Regions from separate parts of the Homo sapiens genome. Here regions 2 and 3 are each linked to region 1. Evidence: promoter capture Hi-C in 16 types of primary human blood cells and fetal thymus (Javierre and others, 2016). All regions are on one chromosome and are shown on one strand. The core of a region is centred on a gene start or on the middle of the fragment in contact, and the rest is flanking DNA. Distances in the headings are between cores, read along the strand shown. Region 1 holds the start of PEX39 (peroxisomal biogenesis factor 39). Region 2 overlaps PTK7 (protein tyrosine kinase 7 (inactive)). Region 3 overlaps UBR2 (ubiquitin protein ligase E3 component n-recognin 2).

The links. Contacts are between HindIII fragments. The CHiCAGO score rates a contact against its expected background, and 5 or more counts as called.
Region 2: a fragment that was not itself captured here is called in contact with the fragment with the promoter of PEX39 in region 1 in 2 of 17 cell types (naive CD8 T cells and total CD4 T cells); the score reaches 7.6 in naive CD8 T cells.
Region 3: a fragment that was not itself captured here is called in contact with the fragment with the promoter of PEX39 in region 1 in 10 of 17 cell types (naive CD8 T cells, naive CD4 T cells, total CD4 T cells and 7 more); the score reaches 8.9 in naive CD8 T cells.

Annotation. Positions count from the first base shown.
Region 1 is chr6:42,889,316-42,892,278 of GRCh38, forward strand. PEX39 (peroxisomal biogenesis factor 39) reads right to left here and starts at 1,506. Exons shown (of 1, transcript NM_001008739.2): 1 at 950-1,506. The coding sequence starts at 1,473. The coding sequence ends at 1,168. RPL7L1 (ribosomal protein L7 like 1) reads left to right here. Exons shown (of 6, transcript NM_001366481.3): 6 at 1-585. RefSeq lists enhancers at 998-1,847, 1,908-1,957. The HindIII fragment of the contact is 5,960 bases long and covers 1-2,779 here.
Region 2 is chr6:43,145,138-43,148,100 of GRCh38, forward strand. PTK7 (protein tyrosine kinase 7 (inactive)) reads left to right here. Exons shown (of 20, transcript NM_002821.5): 16 at 63-295; 17 at 1,481-1,561. Among named protein-coding and RNA genes, the nearest start is that of SRF, 25 kb to the right of the region's middle. The HindIII fragment of the contact is 1,549 bases long and covers 642-2,190 here.
Region 3 is chr6:42,648,990-42,651,952 of GRCh38, forward strand. UBR2 (ubiquitin protein ligase E3 component n-recognin 2) reads left to right here. Exons shown (of 47, transcript NM_001363705.2): 23 at 1,295-1,397. Among named protein-coding and RNA genes, the nearest start is that of PRPH2, 72 kb to the right of the region's middle. The HindIII fragment of the contact is 1,824 bases long and covers 495-2,318 here.

The sequences.
Region 1 (2,963 bases), core at 256-2,755:
TGTAATCCCAGCTACTTGGGAGGCTGAGGCAAGAGAATTGCTTGAACCCAGGGAGGCAGAGGTTGCAGTGAGCCGAGATCACACCATTGCACTCCACCTTGGGCAACAAAAGCAAAACTCTGTCTCAAAAAAAAAAAAAAAAAAAGTGCCAGCGTATGAGGTAATTAGATTGGTTCTCTCCAGAGGTAACCTGCCAAGAAGAGATGCTATAGATGTTACTCCTATACTGTAAAACATTGTGAAATCAGATTACTTTAAAATGATGTATTACAAAGTTATGCAAAAAAGCAGTTGTGACTATGGAAGCCCAAGGCTTATATCCCAGCTCTGTCTTACACTAAATATGGGTACAGTGTTTCCACTCTGTCCATAAAATGGGAGCTAATATTCTCCAACCTGTGTGCCTGACATGATGGTTAAAGGGATTAAACAAAACAATAGTTTGTAATTTATTCTGTCAGAGCAAACTGCTGGTAAATAAAAGGGACTAAGTTGACGAAAAATAAATTTTAAAAAACCTAATAAAACAAGTTTGTAATTTATAATTGTATACAAATAAAAGATGTTACAAAAATTGCGCACTTATATGTATGTACCATGACATAACTAATTCGTTGAACAAGTTGTGAGACAATCCTTTCTGAGAAAAGGTAGACCTGTTACATCGTCTGTGGGTTAGGGTCATGTCAGCACGTACCAGGTACATTCTAGCTTTTGTAGAGAAAGTAAAATCTAGTGTTGAGTATGTAGGCACTGAGCCAGGTGGCCTGCTTAACATAAAAGGACTGATTTCAGGGTGGCTGTGGGAGCCTTTCTAATGCTCTAATTCTCTAGCCCCTTGCCTGATCCAGCTGATTCCAAGAGCCAAGATTTTAGTCTTTCTTGGTTGGCTTTTTTAAATGCTTTGGGCTTTCCTTTAATGTATCTTCAAAATCATTCTGGGGCCAAGTTACATCATAAAACATTTTATTACATATAAGGACTGAAACAGGATTTTTCTTAACTGTAACATGGTCCACAAATGTAAATGCAAAACCCCCATGGTGGTTGCAGGAGCAAGTCTAGTTGAGACAGGTCAGGACGAAAGCATAAAAGATGAGTAACTGAATGGCATCCCGGGTCCTGTAGCCACGCCCTCCAGATCGCCGCCGCAAAGGACCTGGAACCTCAGGGGCCCACTGTATGCCATGAAGAAGGCGCAGTCGCTGCCTCAACCAAGCCAGGCTCCGCCGGGGCCGTTCCTATCCTGAGGGTCGGAGGGGGAAGGGACTCAGCCAAAGCCGCGGCCTCCCAGGGCTTGGGCCTCCGCGGCAGCCGGGACGCTGTGGGTTCGCCGTGGATCGCCGCGATGTGGCGTTTCTCCAGGCCCGGGAGTTCCTGGCCCTGCTGGACCAGCTGCAGGAGCTGCGCCAGGGTAACCGAAGCTGAGGCAGAGGCCGGGGCCGAGCATTGGGGACTGCGGGGACGCTCCATGTCGGGTCGCGAATCCTGACCGGCGTGTAATGCAGAGAAGCGAGCACTTCCGGGCCGAATGGGTGCAACCACCATGGGGGAGGTGGGGAAAGGAAAGGGAGGCTGTAGACCGTACCAAGCCGGCCCAGAACTGGGGGAGCACTTGACAACTCTGACCAGCTCCCTGCAGAAACGCTTTAGAAGCGTCCACGATTTAGCCAAACCCAGAGTGCCCAACGGACGCGCCAAAGAAGAAAAACGGACGGACGTGCCAAAACTTGAAGGCTAGCACAGGACAGAACAAGCCTGCGGACGCGCCGCTGCGGGCAAAAAGACCCATACATACATAAGCACCGCGCACATGCCCATTTTCATGCACACCCCCGGGCGCGCGTACAAGGATTCAGATACAACGCATGGCGGGGGATAATCCCCATACTAGGCTCCGCAGCACGGGACAAAGCATAACTGTAGAGTTGTTCCCAGAGGCCTCAGGAGTGACACCGCCACCAAGCCACGCTACTCTCTTAGTTGTTATTATTGTTTTGTGTTGTTTTAGACGGAGTCTCACTCTGTTGCCCAGGCCGGAGTGCAGCGATGCGATCTCAGCGCACTGCAACCTCCGCCTCCTGGTTCAAGCGATCCACAGGGTCCCTAGTGCCTCAGCCTCCCTAGTAGCTGGTGTATGCCACCAAGCCCAGCTAATTTTTGTATTTTTAGTAGAAACAGGGTTTCACCATGTTGGCTAGGCTAGTCTCGAACTCCTGACCTTAAGTGATGCACCCGCCTCAGCTTTCCAAAGTGCGGGGATTACAGGTGTGAGCCACCGCACCCAGCCAGAGCCTCACCACTTTCTTCACACTTCCTGCCATCCTTCAATTCTTGGTGGTCCCAGAGAAGATCGAAGGTGAAAGCAGGTCAGATGTGCTACAGCTGCTCTGACTGCTCGGAAAGTCAGGTTTTTAAATTATCAAAAGTGGCCGGGCACGGTGGCTCACACTTGTAATCCCAGCACTTTGGGAGGTGGAGGCAGGTGGATCTCAAGGTCAGGAGTTTGAGACCAGCCTGACCAACATGGGGCAACCCCCGTCTCTACTAAAAATACAAAAATTAGCTGGGTGTGGTGGCATGCACCTGTAATCCCAGCTACTCAGGAGGCTGAGGCAGGAGAATCGCTTGAACCTGGGAGGCAGAAGTTGCAGTGAGCTGAGATTGCAGCACTGCACTCTACCCTCGGTGACACAGCAAAACTCTGTCTCAAAAAAAAAAAAAAAAAGTATCAAAAGCTAGACTGATCTGGTGAACATCACCTTAATCAAAGAATCAAAGCTTAATGGCCAGGCGTGGTGGCTCACACCTGTAATCCCAGCACTTTGGGAGGCTGAGGTGGGCAGGTCACCTGAGATCAGGAGTTTGAGACCAGCCTGGCCAACATGGCGAAACCCCATCTCTACTAAAAATACAAAAAAATTAGCCAGGCATAGTGGTGCGCACCTGTAATCCCACCTACT
Region 2 (2,963 bases), core at 166-2,665, 260 kb after region 1:
CCAGGTCAGGAGCTGCCTCGGCCTGGGTGAAGGTGGCTGGCTGACTCAGACTGTACCCACAGGGAAGAGTGAGTTTGGGGAGGTGTTCCTGGCAAAGGCTCAGGGCTTGGAGGAGGGAGTGGCAGAGACCCTGGTACTTGTGAAGAGCCTGCAGAGCAAGGATGAGCAGCAGCAGCTGGACTTCCGGAGGGAGTTGGAGATGTTTGGGAAGCTGAACCACGCCAACGTGGTGCGGCTCCTGGGGCTGTGCCGGGAGGCTGAGCCCCACTACATGGTGCTGGAATATGTGGATCTGGTATGCTGTTGGCAGGGGACGTGGGGGTCTCGGGTAGGGAGGGCAGTGTCCTACAAAGGTGGGAGTCAGTGGTTGGAGCACCGTGAAAACCTTGTCTCGTGCAGTCTCAGCCGAGACCTCACCTGCCTGCTGTTACACTTTGCCCACCTTATGATGCTCAGCTTCTGCCTTCCCTGCTCTTGGATGCCTGCTTTCCCTTTATCAGCACCCAGTCTTTCCATCTGTATCTCAGGGGCGTTGGTCCTAAGTTTTTCTGGGACTTCTCACTGTCACACTGCAGGGATGCCTTCCAGGTCATCTTCTCTGACTCTTGTTTTCTTTGGTTTGTTATTTTTTCCTCCCCAAAAGCTTGTCCCCACTTGAGAATAAATATATCAGAACCCACTTTGCCTCCCTCCTTCCTAGCACCACTTGTGACATGAGTGTTACCCCAGCCACCAGCCTTCTCCTCTCCACTCAGGGTGTCATTCCCAGAGCTGCGCCTTCCTCTTCATTCCCCAGCTGGTCCTTGCCCTCACCCCATGGTCCTCAAACTGCTGCTTCTCAAATCCCTAGTTCTGGGGCAAGAGCGGGCAGGAGTCCTATCAGTCTTTCCATTAACAAGTACTTACGCGGCTGGGCACAGTGGCTCACACTTGTAATCCCAGCACTTTGGGAGACTGAGGCAGGAGGATCGCCTGAGGCCAGGAGTCCGAGACCAGCCTGGGCAACATAGCAAGACTCTGTCTCTACAAAAAAATTAAAAACAAACAAACAAGTACTTATGAATGCTTTATGTATGTTTCTGCTGCTGGCGTTCTCCTTTGTTTGTTTAGATTAGATTGTAAAGCTCTGGAGGACAGGGGTTTCCTCTCAGGAATCTTTGAGGGCAGAGGGTAGGGGACTGTTTTCCTCTTGGCTCACTGAAGATGGGGGCTCTGTTGCCCCACCTGTCTGGAGGTTCCCCTTGGGGTAGAAATGCCAATTCTCCTCCTTTCTAACTGAGACAGCCTCTAGGAGGCGTCTCCTATATATTTTTAAAGTTCTGCACTCCCAGTGAACTTCCCCCTGGGAAAGGGGCCCAGGCTAGCTTAGGCCTTCTCACTGCCTCCCCAGGCAGGAATTCTGCGAGCACCTGCTTGGTCTGAGGCTTTACAGCCAATGGCTGTGCACTGACCTGAGCGAGATGCCTGGCTTTTCCCTTAGGGAGACCTCAAGCAGTTCCTGAGGATTTCCAAGAGCAAGGATGAAAAATTGAAGTCACAGCCCCTCAGCACCAAGCAGAAGGTGAGGACAGGGAGTGAAGGAGGGAGGGAGAGGGTGCCCAGGGGTGGGCCAGGAGCAACAGAGGCACCATTTATTGAGGGCTCTCTATGGGCCAGGCCCTATGGTAAGAACTTCACATGTGTTACTGTAATTATCACGGTAGTCGTCTGAAATATATACTACTATCCCCATTTTGTGGATGAAGACATTGAGGCTTAGGAGGTTGTCTGACCTGTCCCAGGTCATGTAGCCTGGAAGTGGCTTTGCATTGCCATGCTGGCTTCACGGAGAAGAGCTACCCTCGGACCTTGCCTCTGGGCAGGAGCTTGCATTGGAGCAGGACGCCTGCCCACCTGCAATGAGCTCTGAGCTGGAGAAGCAGCAAGCAGTCCTAGTGCAGGGGCCTGCTGGGCTAGCTGTGGGCCTGAGCGTGTTTCTTCAGCTCTGAGTGGAGAAGACTCTTCTGTGAATGGGCTGCCTGGGTTTCCCCCTCTGTGGTTTGCATCTTGTCCTCTCCCTTGGGCTGTAGCTGCCCAGCCTTTCATTCCAGTTTTCCTCCTGCCTTTTGCGCAGAGGTTGTTCTGGGCACAGAGCCCTGGCTGGGGCCCCTGTGGTAGAGCAGACCTTGGTTGAAACAGTGAAGAAGGGAAAGCTTGCCTGCTACCCCCTGCCACCTCAGTCCATACCTTTCCAGTGCCTGGGGCTTGCTGTGGCCCGGCCCCTTCTTCCTTCCCTCAGGTTCTTCTTGCCCACAGCTGCCTCCTCTCCCCTCTGAAATGGATCTACTTCCTTCCATGTGACTGGAGAGTCTGCTTCCAAGCTGGCAGTGAAGTGACCTCATAAACCAAATCAGAGCTCAGGGCAGGGTAGGCAGAAGGCTCTGCCCTTTCTCCCAGGGGACCATTCCTTGCCTGCTAGGCTGTCCCAGGTCACAGACTCTGGAGGCAGAGCAGAAAGGCATGGCTGGCAGATGAATCAGGTGAATGGGACCCTGGCTGCCCCCAATCTCTCTGGGGAAGCAGCTCTGTGCCCTTCAGGCTGGCCCCCTCTTATTACATGTGAATTTACTAAGACCCAGACAGGACAAGTGACCTGGCCACCTGACACCACACCCCTACCTCCTTCCCCATGAAACTGCAGGAACTGTGTATAGTGGCTGTAGAGGAGAAGCCACAGGATGGGACTTGCTACACCAGCTAAGTGAGATTTCAGGACTAAAGAGCTCACAAATTAGGACACTCACAGAGCCAGTGACTCCTCACTGAGCCAGGTGTGGCCCCAGGGGCCCTTGGGAATGCAAAATTAAAACAGACAGGCATCAGCTAGGTGCGGTGGGAGGCTAAGGCAGGAGGATTGCTTCAGCTCAGGAGTTTGAGACCAGCCTGGGCAACATAGTAAGACCCTGTCTCTACAAAAAATAAAA
Region 3 (2,963 bases), core at 157-2,656, 240 kb before region 1:
ACTTTGTCAGTACATATAGGCATACTTCATCCTTTTTCACTTCAGCCTGGGTAACAAAGCGAGACTCAAGTGCAGTGGCACGGTCTTGGCTCACTGCAACCTCCGCCTCCTAGGTCCAAGCAATTCTCCTGCCTCAGCCTCCCAAGTAGCTGGGATTACAGGCGCCCGCCACCACACCTGGCTAATTTTTGTATTTTTAGTAGACATGGGGTTTCACCATGTTGACCAGGCTGGTCTCAAACTCCTAACTTCAGATGATCCAGCCCGCCTCGGCCTCTCAAAGTGCTGAGATTACTGGCATGAGCTATGGTGCCAGGCCCTTTTTCACTTCCTTGTAGTCATGTACTGTAATGTATCTAACCTCTTCCCTATAATACATAGCTTCCAGATTTTCTCTTATAAACAAATATTGAAAATCCTTGTACATACAGCATTAACAAATGTATCTTTGACTGTGAAAGTGTTTCTTTGAGGATTAGCTAGATCAAAATGAAAGCTTGTATTACATTTTGGTACATACCTCCTAATTGCCTTCCCAAAAAAGTCCTCGATTTACACTCTGACTAGAAGTGTATAAAGAGTGCCCTGCAACTTTGTCAACACTTTAATATGAGCAGTCTTTTAGTACCTTATTTTAATTTGCGTTACTCTAAGTGAAGTTGAGCTTCTTTTCATGTGTTTATTGGCCGTTTATTTTTTCATACTTTAATGCATTTTTCTTTATGGTTGTTTGTCCCTATCTTATTGTTCCGAAAGTATTATATATTAGAAATGTCAATTCTTATTTAATACATCACAGTACTTTCTTCCAGTCTCCCTTGTTTTTTAACTTTCTGTTTTTAAAACTCTGTCTCAATTGGCTTCTGGGTTTTATAACTTGCTTAGGAAAGTTCTCTAAACCCCAATAGTGTACCTGCTTTTTTCTGCTTAATAGAACAACACGGAAGTCTTTACATGTGAAAATAGAGAAATTATCACTGTTAATGGTGTTCAGTTGTTTGGAGATGTTGTAATTTGTTATTTCACGTTATTAGACTTTTTAATTGTTGCCACTGCAGTGTCCATCACGTTCACTTGTCTAGTTAGGATAAATTCCAAGTGGGCATGCTAAATAAAACAGATGCATGTAGAACTCGGATTTAGACTGCCAAATCAACCCACTGAAAATAGTTGTAGCTTAACACCCACCAGCAGTATATGAGAGCTCTGCTTTCTTGTTCTAATATCCAAGACTATCTCTCATAAATTAGTGTATGGCTTTGGTAATAATATTCTAAGGTCCTTTCTTTCACAGGAAACCTGGATTAACAGGACGAGGCATGTATGAACTGAAACCAGAATGTGCCAAAGAGTTCAACTTGTATTTCTATCACTTTTCAAGGGCAGAACAGTCCAAGGTAATTGGGAAAATTAAAAATGTAGCAGGGAAGGATTGCATTGTTTTTCTTAAGAGATGAGGTTTCACCATGTTGCCCAGGCTAGAGTTTGGTGGCTATTCACAATGCCATTATAGAGCATTGCAACCTCAAACTCCTGGGCTCAAGCAATTCTCCCACCTCAGCCTCTTGAGTAGATGAGATTACAGGCATGCACCACTGTATCTGGCTTGAATTTTTTTTTCCTAAACAACTTTTTTACTGCTTTTGCAGATTGAAAAATGATACATTTTTATTGTAGGGGATTTGGAAAATATAAAATATAAAGAAGAAAGTAGAAATTACTTAAAATACCCTCACCTAACATTTTGGAGTTACCCCCTAGCGTTTTGTACATATGTATATACGATCTATATAATACATACCTTTACGTATATGGGTATAGTTTTTTAAAACAAATTTTCAACCTGTATTATAATCAGTTAATCCATTTTATGCACATTTCAGAATTGGTATTATTTAACACTTTTTCATAGAGATTCATGGAGCTTTTCTAATCATTCCTAGGTAATTAAATTTTGCCTTTTTGGTGGGGCATGTAATCCCAGCACTTTGGGAGGCTGAGGCGGGCAGATCGCTTGAGCTCAGGAGTTCGAGATCAGCCTGGCCAACATGTTGAAATCCCATGTCTACTAAAAATACAAAAATTAGCCAGGCATGGTGTCATGCACTTCTCGTCCCAGCTACTCAGGAGGCTGAGATAGGAGGATCACTTGAGCCCAGGAGGTCAAGACTGCAGTGAGCTATGATTGCACCACTGCATTCCAGCTTGGATGATGGGAGTGAGACCGTATCTCAAAAAAAAAAAAAAAATCTGCCTTTTAGCAGTCTCCTCTTAAAATGGTTTTTCAATAAACAGCATTAAATAAAACTTAAACATAAAGCTTTTATTTAGTTTTTGATGAAGTCATAGAGTTCAAACTTAAATAAGTTTGTACTTATTTAAGTACATGTTTCCCTTCTAATTTAAAGTAATAGAGAACTCGTTTGGAGATTCTTTTAGTTAAAAAAAAAAATTAACCTTGATGTATCCGTTTGGGGGAGGACTAGAACTTAAAGATAGATATCTTTTTTATTTTTTATTTTTTTTGAGATAGGGTCTCACTCTGTTACCCAGGCTGGAGTGCAGACCTCGGCTCACTAGAGCCCCTGCCTCCCAGGTTCAAGCAATTATCCTGCCCCAGCCTTCTGAGTAGCTAGGATTACAGGTGTGTGCCACCACGCCCAGCCAATTTTTGTATTTTTAGTAGAGATGGGGATTCTCCGCGTTGGCCAGGCTGCTCTCGAACTCCTGACCTCAGGTGATCCACCTGTCTTGGCCTCCCAAAGTGCTGGGATTACAGGTGTGAGCTGCCACGCCCCGGCCTCTGTTGTGTTATTTTCTGATTTTAGATGTTCATCCTTGGCCAGACACATTGGCTCATGCCTGTAATCCCAGCACTTTGGGAGGTTGAGGTGGGCAGATCACAAGGTCAGGAGTTCAAGACCAGCCTGGCCAACATAGTGAAACCCCACCTCTACTAAAAA